Regions from separate parts of the Homo sapiens genome. Here region 2 is linked to region 1. The links are contacts of gene promoters, found by promoter capture Hi-C in blood cells and fetal thymus (Javierre and others, 2016). All regions are on one chromosome and are shown on one strand. The core of a region is centred on a gene start or on the middle of the fragment in contact, and the rest is flanking DNA. Distances in the headings are between cores, read along the strand shown. Region 1 holds the start of ARFIP2 (ARF interacting protein 2). Region 2 overlaps TRIM6-TRIM34 (TRIM6-TRIM34 readthrough).

Region 1 (4,107 bases), core at 836-3,335:
TGGCGGCCAGACCCTAAAGGATCAAGTTCTCTGACACCAGCCTCTCTCAGATACACCAGACACCTCTGTGGCCCCACCCATACTTCTCTTCGAGCACATGAAATTGACTTCCCTGAAGGAGATGCTAGAGACAACTGGATGCTCCTGCTTACTAGGAGGAACTCGGACTTTGCGCGGTGAGAACCAAATCCTGATATACATATGGCCTCCTTGGGGGTTAGAGGAGGGGTTTGCAGGGAGTTGTTGGTGTACAGGGGCAGAGGAAACAGAAGAAAATACACTGAGTTTGGGGGCAGCAGGAGTCAAGGATGGTGGGTCATGATAACAAGAAACCTGGTTGCATTCCCATGTGGAATCTTAGTGTGAGATTCAGGGCTGTTTGTTCCTCTAAACTTTAGAATCTAAAAATTCTGAGAAGCTTCACAAAGTTCCAACTCAGCCTCAAGCTGTAGAGGGGGGGCATTCCTGTGAAGCAGGTCTTAACTTGACTCAGGTGGTGGCAGGGAAAGGACAAATGAGCCATTTCAGGGGCTAAGTGGCAAAAGGGAAATGGATGGACAACGCTGGGAGTTGCTTTTGGGCTGAGGAGAGTCCATGAGGTTCCTACAAGCAGAAGTTCCCAAGATCTCCAGACATAATTCAAGCTTTCCTAGACATATCCTATGCTTCCCCAAACCATTCCTGTCCCCTCCTCCACCCAAGATTCCTGTTTCTGAACATTCATACCTGTGGGGATGAGTCCATCACCAGAGCCCCCATAGCCACCAGACACAATGCTGGTTTCATTGAGGTTGGGTCCTGACACCATCACCTGCTGGAGGTCCTATAGGCCAGAGAAGAGGGGTTGCTTCAGGAACATAGGGGCTGCAGAAGCATTTTGGAGGTGGGAACAAGTTTGGATTCAAGCATCATAAAGATAGTACACAAGGGAAGTCTGCACAGAATCAAAATGATACGTAAAAAGAATGAAGGGAGTCAGATAAGTCAGGGGAAGGCTACTGGAATGGAGGGTGAGAACCTAGGATTTATAAATTGGATTCCTAAATTGAAACAATTAGAAGAATCAAACAGAAGCACCTGCTCCAGCCCATCATCTTCAGGAAGCTGCCTGGCTTCGCCGTTCCCGTGGATAGGGATCTCCATTGTGGCTGCCTTCCCTAGGATCCCGTCCGTCATGGCTAGGAAAGGTATTGGAGTAAAACTCTCCACCCCAGCACCCTGCAAAGCCCAACACAGAAGTTCTGGACACTGGCCAGCACTCTAGAAGAAGGAGGCCTCCTCTGTCATTTCTTTAAAGGCTGTCCCAGGGTTTGAGTGTCCCAGCGTTTGGCCATCATTCCTTTCTTCAGATATATGTATTTCTCCCCTCCAAAACGCACATTTGAAACAGGCACACCAAAGCACGGTGTCTTCTCACAAGCCCCCAACCTCACCAGGACTCTGGTGATTATTTCTACACTCATTCAGCAGACATTTAGTGAGTGCCTACTATGTGTCAGGCACTATTTGTGACAATGAAAATACAACAGTGAAGAGGGAAAGTCTGCTCTCTTAGAACTTATCTCCATGCAGGCGTGTTTATGCTGAGGAGATGAACCCTTTCCAGGGCTCAGGTCTTCACCCCCCTATTCAGGTTTGTTCTCCATTGCTTGGCCTTTCACATTCCTTTAGCGTTTCTTCCCCCTTCCTTCAGGGGGTCTCCCCTCCTCCGTCTCATACACCTCGTCTTCCTCGGGCCCTCCCCACCAGGCCTTAGTTAGATCAGTGGGTGTATGTTCCCAGTCTCTGGTAAAAGCCTCTCTCTCCCAGGATATCGGTGACCCTTCCACAGTCAGTTATGTCTCCCAGGTGTGTGAGTCCCCGCCCCCACCCCCATACACCTGGACATCAGGTGTGTCCTCATCCTTCCCCGGGGCTCGGGGCATCTTGCCCTCTGGACAGGTTTGTGCGTTCAACTTCCCGTCGCCCAAGCATGTTCCTCTCACCTCGGGCCGGGCCGCTCTTCCCCTCAGGGCGCCAGGCCCGGGCCGCGCGGGGACCTCGGGCTCCAGTTCCCGTCGCGATCCTAGCAGCAGGTCAGGGACTCGGCGGAAATGACGTCCTCTCCGGGCAGAAGAAGCCGGCCACGTCGCAGATTATAAGGGCGGAGCTGACGTCGCAGCCAGGGCAGGGCGATACTCGAGCTAGCTCTCGAGATCAGCGAGAGGTTACTTCCGGGGCGGCACCGAGAAGCTGAAACGGAAGTGGCGTACGGCATGCGCCGGTGGCGTGATGGAGCGGCAGCAGCAGCAGCAACAGCAACTGCGAAACGTAAGTGAGAACTAAGTCGTTTCGAGGCCAGACGTTCAGCTCGCATTCCTGCACACATCGCGGGAACCCCACAGGGCCAGGGATTTGAGGGCTGGAAACTTCGGGCTATGGCGCGCGGGCCTGGGAAACTTTGGGCGGCGCGACCTTGACTAGAAGTGTGGGGCCCTTATCGCTGAGTTTGTGGTCCCCCTTTTCTCTCAGCTGCGTGACTTCCTGTTGGTCTACAATCGGATGACAGAACTCTGCTTCCAGCGCTGTGTGCCCAGCTTGCACCACCGAGCTCTGGACGCTGAGGAGGTGGGGAACTGTGTAGGGAGGTTACGCTGCAAGAAGAGTTTAGCGGTAGACTGCTTCCCTCCTCACCCCACTTCCCGTACCTCTGGCCCTGGCCTTCCCACGACCCTCACCCCTAGGCTGGGCATGGGGAAGAAAGGAGGCGGACCCGACAGGGCACCTTTATCCTCCACTTAAACCCTATCTTCCTTCTAGGAGGCCTGTCTGCACAGCTGTGCTGGGAAGCTGATCCATTCCAACCACCGCCTCATGGCCGCTTACGTGCAGCTCATGCCTGCCCTGGTACAGCGCCGCATCGCAGACTACGAGGCTGCCTCGGCTGTGCCAGGCGTTGCTGCTGAACAGCCTGGGGTCTCTCCATCAGGCAGCTAGCCATACCCAACCCCAGGAAGGAAGGCCTTGGATGGACCCTCAGATTGAAGGACCCGGTGGACCTTGGGGTTGGTGAATCCTAAACAGAGAGAATTCGAGGTTGCCTGAAAGCTGGGTGTCCTTGCTCCTTTTCCTGGAGCCAATATACCCAGTTTTTACTCAGTTTGATTTATATTCTGGGCAAGGAAGCTTTGCCTACTTTATTGGCACAATCCGTTGTTCTGTCGTTTAGTGCATATCTGCTGGCTTCAGCCCTGGCAGCTGAGAAATTGTTTTCTATATGTAGAAGGAAAACCTGAGCATTTGCAGGCATCTGGTTAAAGCAGGGTCTGTGTGTACAATTTTAAAACGGGTAATATGTCATGCTCTTAGTTCATCTTCACAACAAAACTATGAGTAAGCGGTATTAGCCTCACTTAACAGATGAGGAAGCAAGATTCCAGAAAGTACCAGAAGGTCATTTTATACAACAGGAGATTGGTTCCTGCCCAGATGACAGAAAATGGGAGCTCTGTCTAGTTGTCCTTAAGTCTGACTGACTTCAGTGGCTCATAACCGTGAGCCAAGTATTTGTTGGTTCATAACTGTTGTTTTGTGAACTATGTCTTACATGTCTAGAGTTCTGCTGGATCTAGGGAAAGGAGGAGCTATCGAAGTACAACGGATCAAAAAACCACAGGGCTTTTGGGCACTGCCTCCTTGGGAAGTTAGTGGCCACAGAAGAGAGATGAAACCTGTAAGAAGTCTGGAGTCTTTTGGAACTTCAGCCATTTCCCCAGGTTGTTACTTTCTTAGTATGTACAGTCTTCTCAGGATGAGCAGTAAAACCTTTGAACAAAGGTCTGTGTGGTTGTCTTCACGGGCAATCAGGAAGGGAGAGAGCTGGGGACCATATTCTGCAATGCAGCCAAATCCGAGGAAGAGAAACTGAAGGGAGAAGTAGATGGCAATGGTTATGATAAAAAGGGATAAAACTAAATCTTCGGGACTTCTTTAATGCTACGTTAATGTTTCACTGCTCGTCTAGAAACTCCTAAATCCAGCTTTCTATCATCTGCCCCACATTGGTCCCATTGAGTACATTCTGTGATTTCTAATTCCAGCCTCTCCATTCTTTTCTCATTATTGCCT
Region 2 (4,107 bases), core at 1,025-3,524, 860 kb before region 1:
TTCTACTTTGTTAGGTATTAATTTAGCCACTCCAGCTTTCTTGTTTTTTGTTTTTTTTTTGTTGTTGTTGTTGTTTGTTTGTTTGAGATGGAGTCTCGTTCTGTCATCCAGGCTGGAGTGCAGTGGCGTGATCTTGGCTAACTGCAACCTCTGCCTCCTGGGTTTAAGTGATTCTCCTGCCTCAGCCTCCCGAGTAGCTGGGATTACAGGCACCTGCCACCACGTCCGGCTAATATTGTATTTTTAGTAGAGACGGGGTTTCACCATGTTGGTCATATTGGTCTCGAACTCCTGACCTCAGGTGATCCACCCGCCTCGGCCTCCCAAAGTGCTGGAATTACCGGCGTGAGCCACCGTGCCCAGCCCAGCTTTCTTTTGATTATTGTTTTCATAACATATCTTTTCATTTTTTTTTTTTTTTTTGAGACGGAGTCTCGCTCTGTCTCCCAGGCTGGAGTGACATGGCGCAGTTGAGTGACGTGGCGCGATCTCGGCTCACTGCAAGCTCCGCCTCCCGGGTTCACGCCATTCTCCTGCCTCAGCCTCCCGAGTAGCTGGGACTACAGGCGCCCACCACCACGCCCGGCTAATTTTTTTGTATTTTTAGTAGAGGCGGGGTTTCACCGTGTTGGCCAGGATGGTCTCGATCTCCTGACTTCGTGATCCACCCGCCTCGGCCTCCCAAAGTGCTGGGATTACAGGCGTGAGCCACCGCGCCCGGCCTCATCTTTTTACTTTTAAACTATTTGTGTCTTCGTACTCCAGCCTGGGCAACAAGAGCGAAACACTGTCTCAAAAAAAAGAAAAGTATTTAAGTGGCATGTAGTTGCTCTAGGTAAATAATATAGTTATCTTCATTTTTCCCAACAAGTTACTGCTTGAGTTGGCATTTTAACTTAGTTTTAATTAAAATTTAAATATTTTGCTACTTTATATTTTGTCAGAAATGATCTTGATTCCATGGGACTCTCAGTTTTTTAAACATTTGCTGTATAACTGCTTTGTGCATACAGTCTAGCCCTTGCCTTCACAGAGACTCAGTCAGTTAGGGGATAAAACAAAGGCATATTCTGTGCAAGGTTTATTTCAACCATCTTTTAGAAGATAAATTTGGGGTTTTAGGGTTCCAAGATTTGAAACATTACATTTGATTGGTGAAGGGCTAGTTCTCAGGTTCTCATGGGGTTGATGTTTGAGGCCGAGAATAACCTTTTTTTTTTTTTTTCCTTGAGATGGAGTCTCCCTCCTGTTGCCCATGCTGGAGTGCAGTGGCACGATCTCGGCTCACTGCAACCTCTGCCTCCTGGGTTCAAGCGATTCTCCTGCCTCAGCCTCCCAAGTACCTGGGATGAAAGGTGCCTGCCACCTTCGGCTAATTTTTGTATTTTTAGTAGAGACAGTGTTTCACCATGTTGGCCAGGCTGATCTCAAACTCTCAGCCTCAGGTGATCCACCTGCCTCGGCCTCTCAAAGTGCTGGGATTACAGGCATAAGCCACCACGCCCAGCTTTTTTTTTTTTTTTTTAAATAAATGCAAGCTTAGGTACAGGCTCTTGTCAAATAAGGAATCAACAAAGAAATAAAATATTGATTCATTTTTATCCATCTTGAAAACATACTAGTATTTGAAGGGCAAATAATTAAAATATGAAAAACAATTAGGGAAATGGAGTCTATTTTGGAATCTTTGAAAAAGCAGAGGAGAAATGTTAGGAGAGAAATCAAGATAGAACTGCAAGTTTAAGGCATTATTGCCTATCTCAGCTAAGCATTGGCCTTTATTTCAAGAGATCGAAGGAAACCCTCACATTTTTGAACTGAAAGTCAACACATACATTTGAATCACACACATTTCCACCTGACCACTGAGGGTACTTGTATGAAGACAGCAACTGAGTTTTCTATATCGCTTCCTCTGTGTCAATCACGTTTCTATACATTATATATATGGACTCAATCTTTTTTTTTTTTTTTTTTTCAGGCAGAGTTTTGCTCTTGTTGCCCAGGCTGGAGTGCAATGGCACGATCTCGGCTCACTGCAACCTTCGCCTCCCAGGTTCAAGCGATTCACCAGCCTCGGCCTCCCGAGTAGCTGGGATTACAGGCATCAACCACCACGCCTGTCTAATTTTTGTGTTTTTTAGTAGAGACGGGGTTTCGCCATGTTAGCCAGGCTGGTCTCAAACTCCTGACCTCAGGTGATCCACCTGCCTCAGCCTCCCAAAGTGCTGGAATTACAGGCTTGGGCCACCGCGCATGGCCTGGGCTCAATCTTTATAGTGGTCCTATGAAAATAGGTACTGTCATTATCCTTTTTTTAAAAAAAATGAGAAAATGGAGGTACAGTGAGATGAAAGAATTTGCTCAAAGTTGGACACATATGAAGTGGCAGAATTGACCTACAAAACAGGGCAGCAAAATTCAGAGGCAACATTTTTATTCATTTCTGTCTGTTAGAAATCTGAAAAGGTCAGTGTGTGAGTCAAATCCTACTTTGATACCTATTTTTGTAAATGTACTTTATTGGAATATCACCATGCTTATTTATGTATCATCTGTGACTGCTTTCAAGTTACAACAGCAGTGTTGACTGGTTGCAACAGAGACTGCTTGACCTGCAAATCCTAAAATATTTACTGTTTGACCAGCCTGACCAACATGGTGAAACCCCATCTCTACTAAAAATACAAAAATTAGCCGGGCATGGTGGCCCGCGCCTGTAATTCCAGCTACTTGGGAGGCTGAGGCAGGGGAATCGCTTGAACCCAGGAGGCAAAGGTTGCAGTGAGCCGAGATCACACCACTGCACTCCAGCCTGGGCAACAGAGTGAGACTCCATCTCAAAAACAAACAAACAAACAAACAAATAGTCAAAGTAATGTATAATGCTCAAAATGTAATCTTAGGCCTAATGAAGGAATAGACTCCTATATTACTCATAAATGATATAAGTAATATTAAACTTGGGGTCTAGCTTACGTGACCAAGATAATGATGAAAACTTTAAGTTGAAAGCTTATGTTGAAAAACAAAATAAAATCATTTCATATGCAAATTTTAACACCACAGTCAGGAATGTCAATGGATATACAGGGTAAAAGAAGAGAGAAAATTAACCTAGATGATAAACTGTATACATTGCATATTGATTAATCTACTATAAAACAATGGCACAAGTACATGATTGTTTTGATTCTTGAACCTTGATTGATTATAGATAGCATCAAATGTAGTATACTCTGGGGGAGAAAAGATTGGACTATGAGAGGAAATTCTATTTTAAGCTTTGTACAATTATAAGACATAAGGAGGACACAAATCTCATTAAGGGCAGATTTGGGAGAGAAACAGTGACAAAGCTAAAACCGTGACTTATTTGGGAAACATCAGTGTAGCATGATAAGGACAAGCCATTTTATATCACTCACATGAGCAGGCTTCATGTCATTGGGTAAAAATTCACAGTAATCCTGGAGAAAATGAAGAATGTGTGAATCAATGTATTGTGTGCAAACGGTGATATGAGGGTAGCCTGAGTCATATGAACTCCCTGGGAAAAACGACCAGCTTTGTGTATGTAGCAAGTGGACTTGGTACTCCTATTACCTAAAAAGAGCCTCTGCAAGTACTTATTGACAAAAGTTGACATCTACTCTGCATATGGAATAGCTGTCCCTGCCTCTCAGGCATTTTGTACCATAAAGGCCAACAGATTGCCATTATCAATATTTTGATGTCCTCAAAACAGTTTCAGTGGTAACCACATGATCGTACAAGAATACGCCTCCTTCATTCTGTTGCCAGAGAAGTACAGGAATCTTCAGTTCTTTGTCTTATTTGGAGAAAGCATTCTGCTTTCCAGTCTTTTCCAGTGGAGAGTAGGCCTTTGTTATGGGGGATGCTCTGAACATATTTCAGAATGGTTCTTTTACTCTCTCTCTGCCAGAAAAGAAAGGATCTTTTTCTTGGCTTTCCACTATGGGAACTCACTTTGGTTTTTGGAGGTAAATTCCAAGCAAGTGGGGCGGGGGCGGGGCCCTAAGTCTAGGTGCTAGGAGTTTCTCTCTCTCAAGCTAGTCCATAATCAGCCTCCGGCAATTTGTCAGA

Evidence for each region. The method cuts DNA at HindIII sites, captures the fragments that hold promoters and counts their contacts. A CHiCAGO score of 5 or more calls a contact.
Region 2: a contact is called between a fragment that was not itself captured here and the fragment with the promoter of ARFIP2 in region 1, in 2 of 17 cell types (non-activated CD4 T cells and activated CD4 T cells). The highest score is 7.3, in non-activated CD4 T cells.

Annotation. Positions count from the first base shown.
Region 1 is chr11:6,479,246-6,483,352 of GRCh38, forward strand. ARFIP2 (ARF interacting protein 2) reads right to left here and starts at 2,086. Exons shown (of 8, transcript NM_001376558.2): 1 at 1,986-2,086; 2 at 1,078-1,218; 3 at 727-823; 4 at 1-13. The coding sequence starts at 1,176. It overlaps TIMM10B (translocase of inner mitochondrial membrane 10B), which reads left to right and starts at 2,256. Exons shown (of 3, transcript NM_012192.4): 1 at 2,256-2,310; 2 at 2,512-2,607; 3 at 2,800-4,107. The coding sequence starts at 2,272. The coding sequence ends at 2,976. RefSeq lists enhancers at 1,679-2,878, 1,715-1,834, 2,315-2,364. The HindIII fragment of the contact is 2,521 bases long and covers 643-3,163 here.
Region 2 is chr11:5,615,528-5,619,634 of GRCh38, forward strand. The region is part of intron 7 of TRIM6-TRIM34 (TRIM6-TRIM34 readthrough); the gene reads left to right. It also overlaps a transcript of TRIM5 not described here. Among named protein-coding and RNA genes, the nearest start is that of TRIM34, 7.4 kb to the right of the region's middle. The HindIII fragment of the contact is 1,477 bases long and covers 1,537-3,013 here.